Regions from separate parts of the Homo sapiens genome. Here region 1 is linked to region 2. The links are contacts of gene promoters, found by promoter capture Hi-C in human tissues and cell types (Jung and others, 2019). All regions are on one chromosome and are shown on one strand. Each heading gives the region's core, a stretch centred on a gene start or on the middle of the fragment in contact. The rest is flanking DNA. Distances are from core to core; before and after follow the strand shown.

What was found. Contacts are between HindIII fragments. The study calls those that stand out against the background at their distance.
Region 1: a fragment that was not itself captured here is called in contact with the fragment with the promoter of CASQ2 in region 2 in 1 of the 25 tissues and cell types used here (mesenchymal stem cells).

The regions. Positions count from the first base shown.
Region 1 is chr1:115,727,843-115,732,996 of GRCh38, forward strand. CASQ2 (calsequestrin 2) reads right to left here. Exons shown (of 11, transcript NM_001232.4): 5 at 5,059-5,132. Among named protein-coding and RNA genes, the nearest start is that of CASQ2, 38 kb to the right of the region's middle. The HindIII fragment of the contact is 3,849 bases long and covers 1,981-5,154 here.
Region 2 is chr1:115,767,260-115,772,036 of GRCh38, forward strand. CASQ2 (calsequestrin 2) reads right to left here and starts at 1,455. Exons shown (of 11, transcript NM_001232.4): 1 at 1,049-1,455. The coding sequence starts at 1,282. RefSeq lists an enhancer at 4,508-4,767. The HindIII fragment of the contact is 10,019 bases long and covers 1-4,777 here.

The DNA of each region.
Region 1 (5,154 bases), core at 2,655-5,154, 37 kb before region 2:
GCTCGGAGAGCCAGCCGATAGCCAGGAAGACATTTTCTCTCTGGATTAAAGCAGCCACATGTTCAGTGTGTTGTCAAGGCAGAATGGTTGCTGTTTGCCTGCACAGCTGCTGAACTCAGGACCTCTGTTTGTGAAATGATTTCAGAGGCCTGGAATGTGCAACGCTCTATAGAAAACCAAATGCCACTCTTTTCTAGTTCAGAGCTGTGGTTCAAGAAAGCGCAGGGATGAACAGTGGTTCCCTTTAAGCTGAAGAGGAATTGCCTAAGAGCTGATGCACTGTGGTGGTAACCCGTGGTGCCGTGACCCAGGGCGGCTGCAACTAACTGGGGAAGGGGAGGAGCTGGGTATTGCATAAGCTCTTACACAAGGAGATCCATTCTGAGGAAACATTGATATCCATATGGTTTTTGTCATCAATTGCTATGAATTCCAGGTCACTATATTCTGAAAGGCATTTCATATAGTACTTAAGGGAGAGAAATTCCAGCATCCTACTCAGAGATCAAGAAAACAGGCCATGTTGACAGCTATAGTCAGTCAAGGGAGATTTTATTGTCAGGTTAATTTTAAGAGAGGGAGATGTGGAGTTTTTTCTAACTGTTTTTCCCTCTTCTCAGGGGTAGGGGGGTGATGTAGATGATGAGGTGATGAGGCAGGGAGCCAGAGTGGGCAAGAAAATGACATTGAATTCTGGTTTTCTGAGTTCACTTACTATGTATTCTAGGAACCAGAAGACTGTTTCCATGAAAGGAGAAGTGATCAGAATGAAAACAGTAATAATAACAAACATATGGAGTGCTTATCACGTGCCAGGCACTGCTGCCAGGTGTTTTAGGTTGATTCTTTGTTTAATTCTCACTTTGATTGTATGTGGTAAGAATGATTATCATAGTTATTTTACAAATGATGAACCTGAGGCACAATTTGGGTAAGAAATTTGTCAGGATCATATATCTGGAGGGAGCAGAGCCAGAAGTCAAACCCGCCTGGTGGTGGTGATAGTCTCGTCTCTGAATGCCAATGTCTGGGTCCACAGTGCTGTCTAAGAATGTAAAAATTGGATTGTCGTGTCCTTAATTTAAGTCTTGGAAATGCTAAGTAAAAATTTCCCAGGGATCTCTTCACTGTCTACCTACCACCATCATGGAGTGCTCTCATCTTGTATCTCAGAGAATCCCTCTCTTTCATTCTTTTTTTTTTTTTTTTTTTTTTTTTTTTGGTGAGACAGAGTTTTGCTCTTGTTGCCCAGGCTGGGGTTCAATGGCACAGTCTCGGCTCACTGCAATCTCCGCTTCCCAGGTTCGAGCGATTCTCCTGCCTCAGCCTCCCGAGTAGCTGGGATTATGGGCACAGGCCACCACACCCAGCTAATTTTTGTATTTTTAGTAGAGATGGGGTTTCGCCATGTTGGCCAGGCTGGTCTTGAACTACTGACCTCAGGTGATCCACCTCCCCCCTCGGCCTCCCAAAGTGCTGGGATTACAGGCGTGAGCCACTGCGCCCGACCCCCTCTTTCATTCTTATTATTCCTATCTTGGATGGTAAGGACTGAAGGGATTTGATTGGTTGAAGCTTTTATTCATTCATTTATTCAGTAAGTATTTAGTGGGGCCTACTGAACCCAAGGCATTATTCCAGGAGGAGATCTGGTTCATGGGTATTAGCATTATATAAGAATGAATTATATTATTAAGAACCAAATGGGTCCATAAAAATGAATTCTTTCATGCTTTTATCTGTTAACTAGTTGGAATAGATTTCAACAAAGATAAGAAAACTACAAAGTACAATGCCAATTTTCTGACATGTGCATGTATATGAATTTTGATACAAATCATTTTTCCTCCAGTTAGCAAGTCATTTTAGTTGTTGCCAATGAAACCAACTCAAGTATTAGGTTGGTGCAAAAGTAATCGCAGTTTTTGCCAAAAGTAATGGTTTTTGCCATTACTAAATTTAGGTCTTCCCAACATCTATCTTCTCCACTAACTTTGTTTAGTCACAGCACCCTTTGGCTCCAGTGTGATTTAAAAAAGAAAGTGATTTTTCGTCTCATTGTTCACTCAGACAGAGAGAGGAACAGGTCAGTGGGCGGGGACATGGGATTTTAAGAACTGATATTTTTCAGGCTGTGAGGTGCAGCAGAGTGGAACCATCCTTGGCCCTCTGACACTTTCTTGTTCTAACTGCTTCTTCAGAGAGGTTGGGCCTTCGTGTGGCTTGATTTAGGATTAGTATTAATAGATCAGTACTGGTCCTAAACCTCCACACCCTTTAAAATTCCTTGGGTGGCTTTTGAAAATGCAGATTCCCAGACACTGCCACAACCCTAAAAAATTAAAATTTCCAGGGCTGGGGCCCAGAGACCAATGGTTTTAAAAGCTTGTTGGAGGATACTAATATGGATAGTGGTTGGGAACTACTGACTGACAAATTTACATCAGCAGCCATGACATCTCACCCTCTTTACAGTCTTGCAACTCATATGATGTATTTATTGGTTTGTTTACTTTTGAACTTTCTGTCTTTCCATCTTCTCTTTCCCACAATAAACTTTAAATTCTAAAGGGCAGGAATCTGCTTTGCTCAATGTTGTGTCCCTGGCACTAAGAAGAGTGCCTGGCACATAAAGGGCACTCAATAAATACTTGTTGAGTGAATGACTGAATTAATTAATTAATTAATTAAGGACATTTCCAGTTGAATGTTTCCCCAACTTTTAGAAAATAGAACTCATAACCCCATCTCTTGTTCCTCAATAGATTCTTCTTCCTGGATTTCCTAATGTTTTCAGTAGCTTCATAATTTTTGCTGTCTTAACGCCAAGACTTGCTATCTTAAGTTATTTTGAGGCCTTCTCTCATCATCTCATCAATGGCCAGATCTTCTTGTTATATCCACTTTTACTAGTGCCAGTTGTTTTTTGCATTTTTGTGACCGCATTAGTGCTTTCTTGTCCCTTGCCTCTCCTGGTTTCAGACCTCAACAAAGCACCTCCAGGTCCCTCTGAGATTCCCTAGGATGTGTTGTACAAACAGGTCCTTTCAGCCACTTCACATTTATTACTTTTCTCCTCTTCTGTCCTAGCACTCCCTGCTGGAAACCACTGAGGCTCTACCAGGTGCAGTCATGCCTTCTGGACTCCACCATCTCCCCTTGGACACCCCCTCCACCCCAACTGATGGATGCAAGTTCTTAAGCACCAAATGGCATCAGAGTCCTCTCAGTGCTCTCCCCTCTGTGTACCTTTGTCTCTTTAAATATTCTGAAATCCAACAAGGCTACATGAACACTGGCACTTATGACTCAGTGTCCTACAGAATTTGAATAAAGCATCTCTCTGAATTTTTAATCATAGCCTGACCTCACCTTTTTCATGGACCACAGGCATGAAGCTATACAGTTGCACTAGGAGGCACTTCTACAAACAAATACTACCCTGAGCTCAACGTTGAACCACCCCTCTAAAAACTAAGGCTTTGTTGCTGGACAAATTAATTGGCCTGCCTCTCTATTCCTTTCAGCTGGATTCTTACCCAGGAGCCTCTTTAGCCACACCTAGTCCATTAGAACCAAATGGTCCATCAGAACCATATGTCAGTAATGGATTCAGTTTCGGCTTCTCTGTTCCTCCCTTTCTCTACTAATATCCTATCCAATCCTCCCACTTCCTGGGCCTAGATGATTGCTTTCTTATGAACAATGGTGCTCATAGCTGGCTAACTATTACTGAATGCTTCCTGTGTGCCAAAAACCAGCTAGGCAGTTTGCATATATTGCTTCTTTCTCTGGAGTAAAGTAGGACAGAGCATTGACTTTGAAGTCAGGCTGGTCTGAGATTATAGCAAGCTTCTCAATTCAGTAACTACATGATCATGAAAAAATCACTTAATCTTTCAGCACCTCAGTTTCATCCTCTGTAGAATGAGGATACTAATTCCTCCCTTATGGGAGTGTTGAAAGGATGAAGTGAGAAAATCCATGTTAACTTCTTAGCACACACTCTGGCACAAAGAGACTTCTTAGCACAGACTCTGGCACATAAAAATTTTTTTGAATTTATTATTTTTTATATTTTTATTTTTTGAGAGAGGATCTCACTCCATTGCCCAGGTTGGAGTACAATGGTATGATCACAGCTCACTGCAGCTTCAACCTCCTGGGCTCAAGTGATCCTCCCACCTCAAGCCTCCCAAGTAGTTCGGACTACAAGTGTGTGCCACCACACCCAGCTAATTTTTGTATTTTTTGTAGAGATGGGGTCTCACCATGTTGCCCAGGCTGGTCTCCAACTCCAAGGCTCATGCAATCCACCCCCGTCAGCCTCCCAAAGTGTTGGGATTACAGGTGTGAGCCACAGCACCTGGCCCATAATAGACACTTAATACATGATAGCTTTTTTGATTATTCTTGCTCAAGATCCCTCCCAACTGTAATACAACTAATTAGGATAAACATTCTTCAAGTTTAGATTATGTTACTTGGATTATAGAGCACTCTTCTGGATCATAGGCTTGAAGACTGGGCCATGTCTACAGAAGTGGTTCATCATATACATGAACTGAATGCAATCTCATCCCACCACGTCCCTTCCCTGCTTCAGCTCACTGACTTCCTCTTGTTTTTCGCAGAACACTTGCTTGAACTAATCACAGAGGAGTTCCCATTCTACTTCCCATCCTGACGCAGTAGAAGGGGAAGTATGCAACCCCAGGAAGGGAGAGGATACCCCCTAAGGAAAAAGGAAGCAGTGGCTCAGTGGGCTGGCACACTCTGGGCCCACACGTTTCCCATCTCAGTGTATAAGAAGATAATGGTGGGTCATCACTTTTCCTTGGATGTTTTCATAAATATCCTTACATCCTCTGACTTAGTCATCTTTGTACTCATCTTAAATCCAATAGTGATTTAGTGATATAATTCTTAACCCTTCTAGAGAAAGAGGCAAGGGAGGATGGTTAATGTTGCTAAAAGAAAAGAAAGAGTGGTGAGAGTTCAAACTTTAATTCTTCATGCCTACAAAACTGTTCAAATTGGGGTTTCATAGGTACTTACCCCTTTGTCAAAGGTGGCAAAGAATTTGATGTAAGGCTGGAAGTGTTCAGCTGCTTCTTCAAAAGCCTTGTAGTCTAAGGGGAAAAATAAAGATGA
Region 2 (4,777 bases), core at 205-2,704:
ACAGAGAGAACTGAAATTCCACATTCAGCACCCAAGGTTGGAGATATACTTTTGATGTATTTGGGATAGTTTTGCTGGATTTTATTACAGTCAATTTTTCAATTTGAAAAAATTCAAATCCACATGGGTTTTATATGATAATCCTATTAAACTATTTCATCAACCTGAGTTCTCTGATTGTGCTGGTTAATAAACTGTAATTCTCAAATATCCCTTTCACAGGTTTGCGCCTGGGCTAGGCGTGGAGACTGATGAGGCATCTTGGTGCCCACTAGCATTCTTGGCACCCTCAGGCCCTCTTAAAGTGTAAGCCATCTTAAGCTGTCCAGGAGGAGCTGCAGGAATAGTTTCTGGGGCACTCGCAAAGGATTAGAAAATGGGCCCCAGTGCCAGGTTACAAACAGGCAGGCCATGTAATGCGGATAAAATAAGAACTGACTTCAGCTCTGCCCTAAAGTCACACCAAGAACTTTCTGAGAAAAAAAATCACATAAATGAATATGCTGCTCAGAAGATCTGCACACAACTACATTCTGTAATGCTGACTGACGCAAAACAAGAGAGAGGAAAGTCATTTAGTGATATTCTCCGTCTGACCCCCAGAGAGACGCAAGGTCAAGTAACTCTGGTCTCTCCAGGATCATGGGGAGATTTGAGGGAGCAAAGTGGGCACACTGAATGAAATCCACAAGTAGTCCCTGGATTTCATTTCAGCCAACAGTTTTAACAATAGTTTCTACATTCTATCTGGGAAACAATGGCTGGGACAAGGGCCCTTGAAAAGTCAAGGGGGCCATAAAGACTTTACATCAGACCCATCGTAGTGTAGCACGTTTGGTCCTCTTCATTTGAAGAGTTAGGACCCACCCCTCATTGTTCACACATCCCAGCTGTGTGACAAGGGCATCTGATTCACGTGAGGCCAAAATAAAGCAGAGTTCAGTATATATTCTCTGCATCCTCGTTCCCATATCCCAACCCCTGGCCAAAGGCATTCCCTCGGCACCTCACTGAGGCAGCGCAGACAGCATGCCCTTTGGTTACTTACCTCAAGCACGATTTCTTTCAGTTGGAACTGTTTTTGCGTGACCTTATCTGAAGACACCGGCTCATGGTAGTAGAGGCAAAGCAAGTCATATTTCTTTAAAACCTGCTTGAAGTTCTTCTCGGAAAGACTTACCACTCGGTCCTTCCCATCATATGTGGGGAAATTAAGCCCCTCTTCTGCCCTGCAAGAGGACAGAAAATAAATCCCCACAATAAACAAGTGAGTTCTCTTCATTTGGGAAAACTTTTGTTTCTCGTTCCCAAATATGCTGTGTGCAGAATAGAGGACAGAAGACTGTTAGAGGCCTTGTTGAGCCAAGGAGAGAGCAGACAGGCTGATTTTCTCTCTTCTTTGCCCTTCCTGGGGCTGAAAAGTGACTCTTCACCTCCTTGGGTCCAGCCAGCTCTGGAATCGTGGGCTCAGGACAAAGAGCAGAGGCACACACACACACACACGCACGCACGCACGCACGCATGAGAGTAGAAAAACAGCCAAGCTAGGGAGGCTGGGAGGCCAAGCCCCAGATACCTTACATAGCTCTGCTCAGCCTCTGTCTCATTAGGAACTCCATTTTTAGGATGCAGTTGTTTCAGGCTAAAAATAAATCATGCAATGAATAAAAAAGTTAGATACGACACTGTAGAGGGATTCGCTGATACAGTCTGTCCGACTGGTGAAGAGGGAAGAGGCAGAAGGAAAAAGACAAGAATGTACACGCATGAAATAAGGAGGCTAGAAAGGTCAAAGAAGAGAAAGAAACTCGAGAGGGAGAGAGATAAGGGACTATGGTGCCAATAAGCAAATGGAGAGTTCAAACATACGGAATGACACTCATACATTACTGAATTGTTAAATCACCCCAGGGTGGTAACTCAGCCTGTCCCCTCACGGTGGTTGTTCATCCTCTGTTCCTCACTGCAACATGGAACAAAATGGAGCCCCGAGGTAGACTTCTTCATGTTCTACTCCTGTCTTTTTCTGCCTTCCCTCCTCTCTTCTTAAAAATCCTCTGCCAGCCACTGGGCGAGGGGTGCAGGGACACCCTGCTGAACCCAGCTGACACCAGAAGAACCTGTCCTCATTAAACTAAAATGAAACAAGGTTCACAGTTCAAATCCCTACTCTGCCTTTTAACAGCTAATGAACTTTGGAGGGTCACTTGCCCTCTCTGATTCTCAGTTCCCCTCTATGTAAAGTGGGGCTGATAATAACCATAAAGTTTCAAACACATAGATGAAAAAGCATGGCACAAAATAGGTGCTCAAAAATAGTAGCTATTATACTTACTTCTCATTGGAGCTGGTGGAACATTGGTTATATAATGGATATTTGTCTGTTTCTAATATGAATGGTTTGTGAACCCTTTCTTGTCCATTTTCTCCTTGAATCCAGTAGGCAATTGGGGCAAAAGGGATCAGGGCTCATCCTACCGCTGAGCTAACAGCAACTTGTCTGAGTTTGCAGCATTTCTAACTGCCGGAGCAAGAATCCAACCCTGCCTCAAAGCTGCTGCTCCTGGCTGTTTTGCCTCTGACTCTGGGTGATTCCCTTGCAGACACCCCTTTTCTTAAGTACCTTCTTGACCATCTCTTCCAGTCCAACCCTAGTCCAGTCATGTCTCTCCACTCTTCAAAGGCATCTAGGGCATTCATGATTCTGACCAAGTTTTTGTTCTCCTTCAGTTATAAATCAGCTTTGGAAAGACAGAGTACTCTGTCATGCACAGCTTCTGCAGGGGCTAGAAGGCAAAGAGAAGATCCGTGGCCTCTCTGAGTAAAGCAAGGCTCCCCTGCAGTCAGACGGCCTTACACTGAGAGTCAGGCTGATAAGGGGTTGTCTTGATGCTACACTCTCATGTGCAGAAAGTTGGGGCCTTGAAGAACCCATCACTAAAACCCTTGACGGTATTCCGTTCTTTCTAATGGTGTAGTCTCTAAGTTTTCAAAAGATGGAGCCAAGAATATCCATTCTAAGGTGCACTTAGCTTTCCAAGTCAGTGGCAAGCATGCAAGATCTCTGCTTTCTTTAGGAAATTTAAGGGGAAAAAGATTTCCGAGTGAAACAATGTGTGTCTTGTCTTTTTGAGGTCAGCCTCCCCAGACTGTTCCCAGTTGTCTCGATCTCACTGGGTTACCTTTATTTAGAATTTGCTCCACTTTTCTTAATATGTAAGTAGGTTTTTTTTAACTGTTACTGAAAAATTGGAAGCTATTTAAAGTCAGAGTCTTTTAATTTCCTTCTGACTTATAATTGACAAAACTATAAGGGAAAAGAAATAATTTTTTAAACTTTAGTTTAGCCTTCAACTCTGGTTTACTACAAAAAGCCCGAGCTGTGGAAAGTTCCTGCCCCTAGATCATGGACTCGATTTGGGCCAGGCAGCCCAGCCCTGAGGACATGCAGCCACTGACATATGCTGTGGTGATCAGGTTTCCCCCAAGCATCCATGGTAGATATGAGGTCTACATTCATGCCCCACTCTCAGCAAAAGGTAGGTTTTCATAGTTTACATTTAACGTACCAGGCTTATTTTCTGTCTGCCTTTCATTTTCCTATTTTTGTTTTTCCTCTGTCTTATTGCTCACCAACTTTAATTTTTTTTTTTTTTTTTTTTTTTTGAGATGGAGTTTCGCTCTTGTCGCCCAGGCTGGAGTGCAATGGCGCGATCTCGGCTCACCACAATCTCCGCCTCCCAGGTTCAAGCCATTCTTCTGCCTCAGCCTCCCGAGTAGCTGGGATTACAGGCACGTGCCATCACGCCTGGCTAATTTTGTATTTTTATTAGATACGAGGTTTCTCCATGTTGGTCAGGCTGGTCTTGAACTCCCAATCTCGGGTGATCCGCCTGCCTTAGCCTCCCAAAGTGCTAGGATTACAGGTGTGAGCCACCAGGTCCAGCCAATTCATTTATTTTTTAAACAAAGAATGCTTCACACATTTCTGAGTCAACCTTACATCCTGCAAATCAGCTGTTTTGTTCCAGCTTTAGCTGCGCCCCAAGCCAATGTGTCATGTACTTCTAGTTTATGTGGTTGTGCTGAAATGTGTGCATTTTTATGTGCCATTAGTAGGTACTTTTTGTTTTGTTTTTAAACAAGAAGGGGTAGAACAAAACACACAAATCAATACAAATAAATGTTTATTGTTGTCACAATATATGCCGTAGGCCCCTTGTTTTGCTAACCATTTCCAGTCCTTCACTGTGAGTGGCCGCCAACTACAGTCCCTTAATCTAACCTAGCTCATTTACTTTGTTTATTCTTGACAGGTGGCAGAATGATTTTTCTCTCAGACCATTTTATCTACAAAGAGAAACGTATGTGCTCACGCCTCCCTTCGAAGGTCTGCAGGTCTCCATTTGGGCGCCTCTGAGGTGCCTCAGAGAAAGAACCGCCCCCAGAAAGGCAGGAGACCTGCGTTCCGCCTGCCTGTGTGATTAGGTCAGGAGCCCTGAGGCTCGGGCCCTAGCACTTCCAATTTGTGAAAGAGGGTTAGAGTCACCAAGCTCCTAAGGCCCCCTTTCTGGCTCTAAGATGTTAAAATCTGTTATAAGATTTTCTTTTACCAGGATAGGCCTCAGCCCAACACACAGTGTGATGAAGTCTGATGAGTGTTAGCTGCGGAGGAGGGTTTTGATGGGCGTGACTCCGGACGAGTCCAAGCTTGCCTCTTCTCCAAGGCAAAGATCGCCTACAATGTCACTGCTGCCAAAGGACCCTTCTTTGGCTA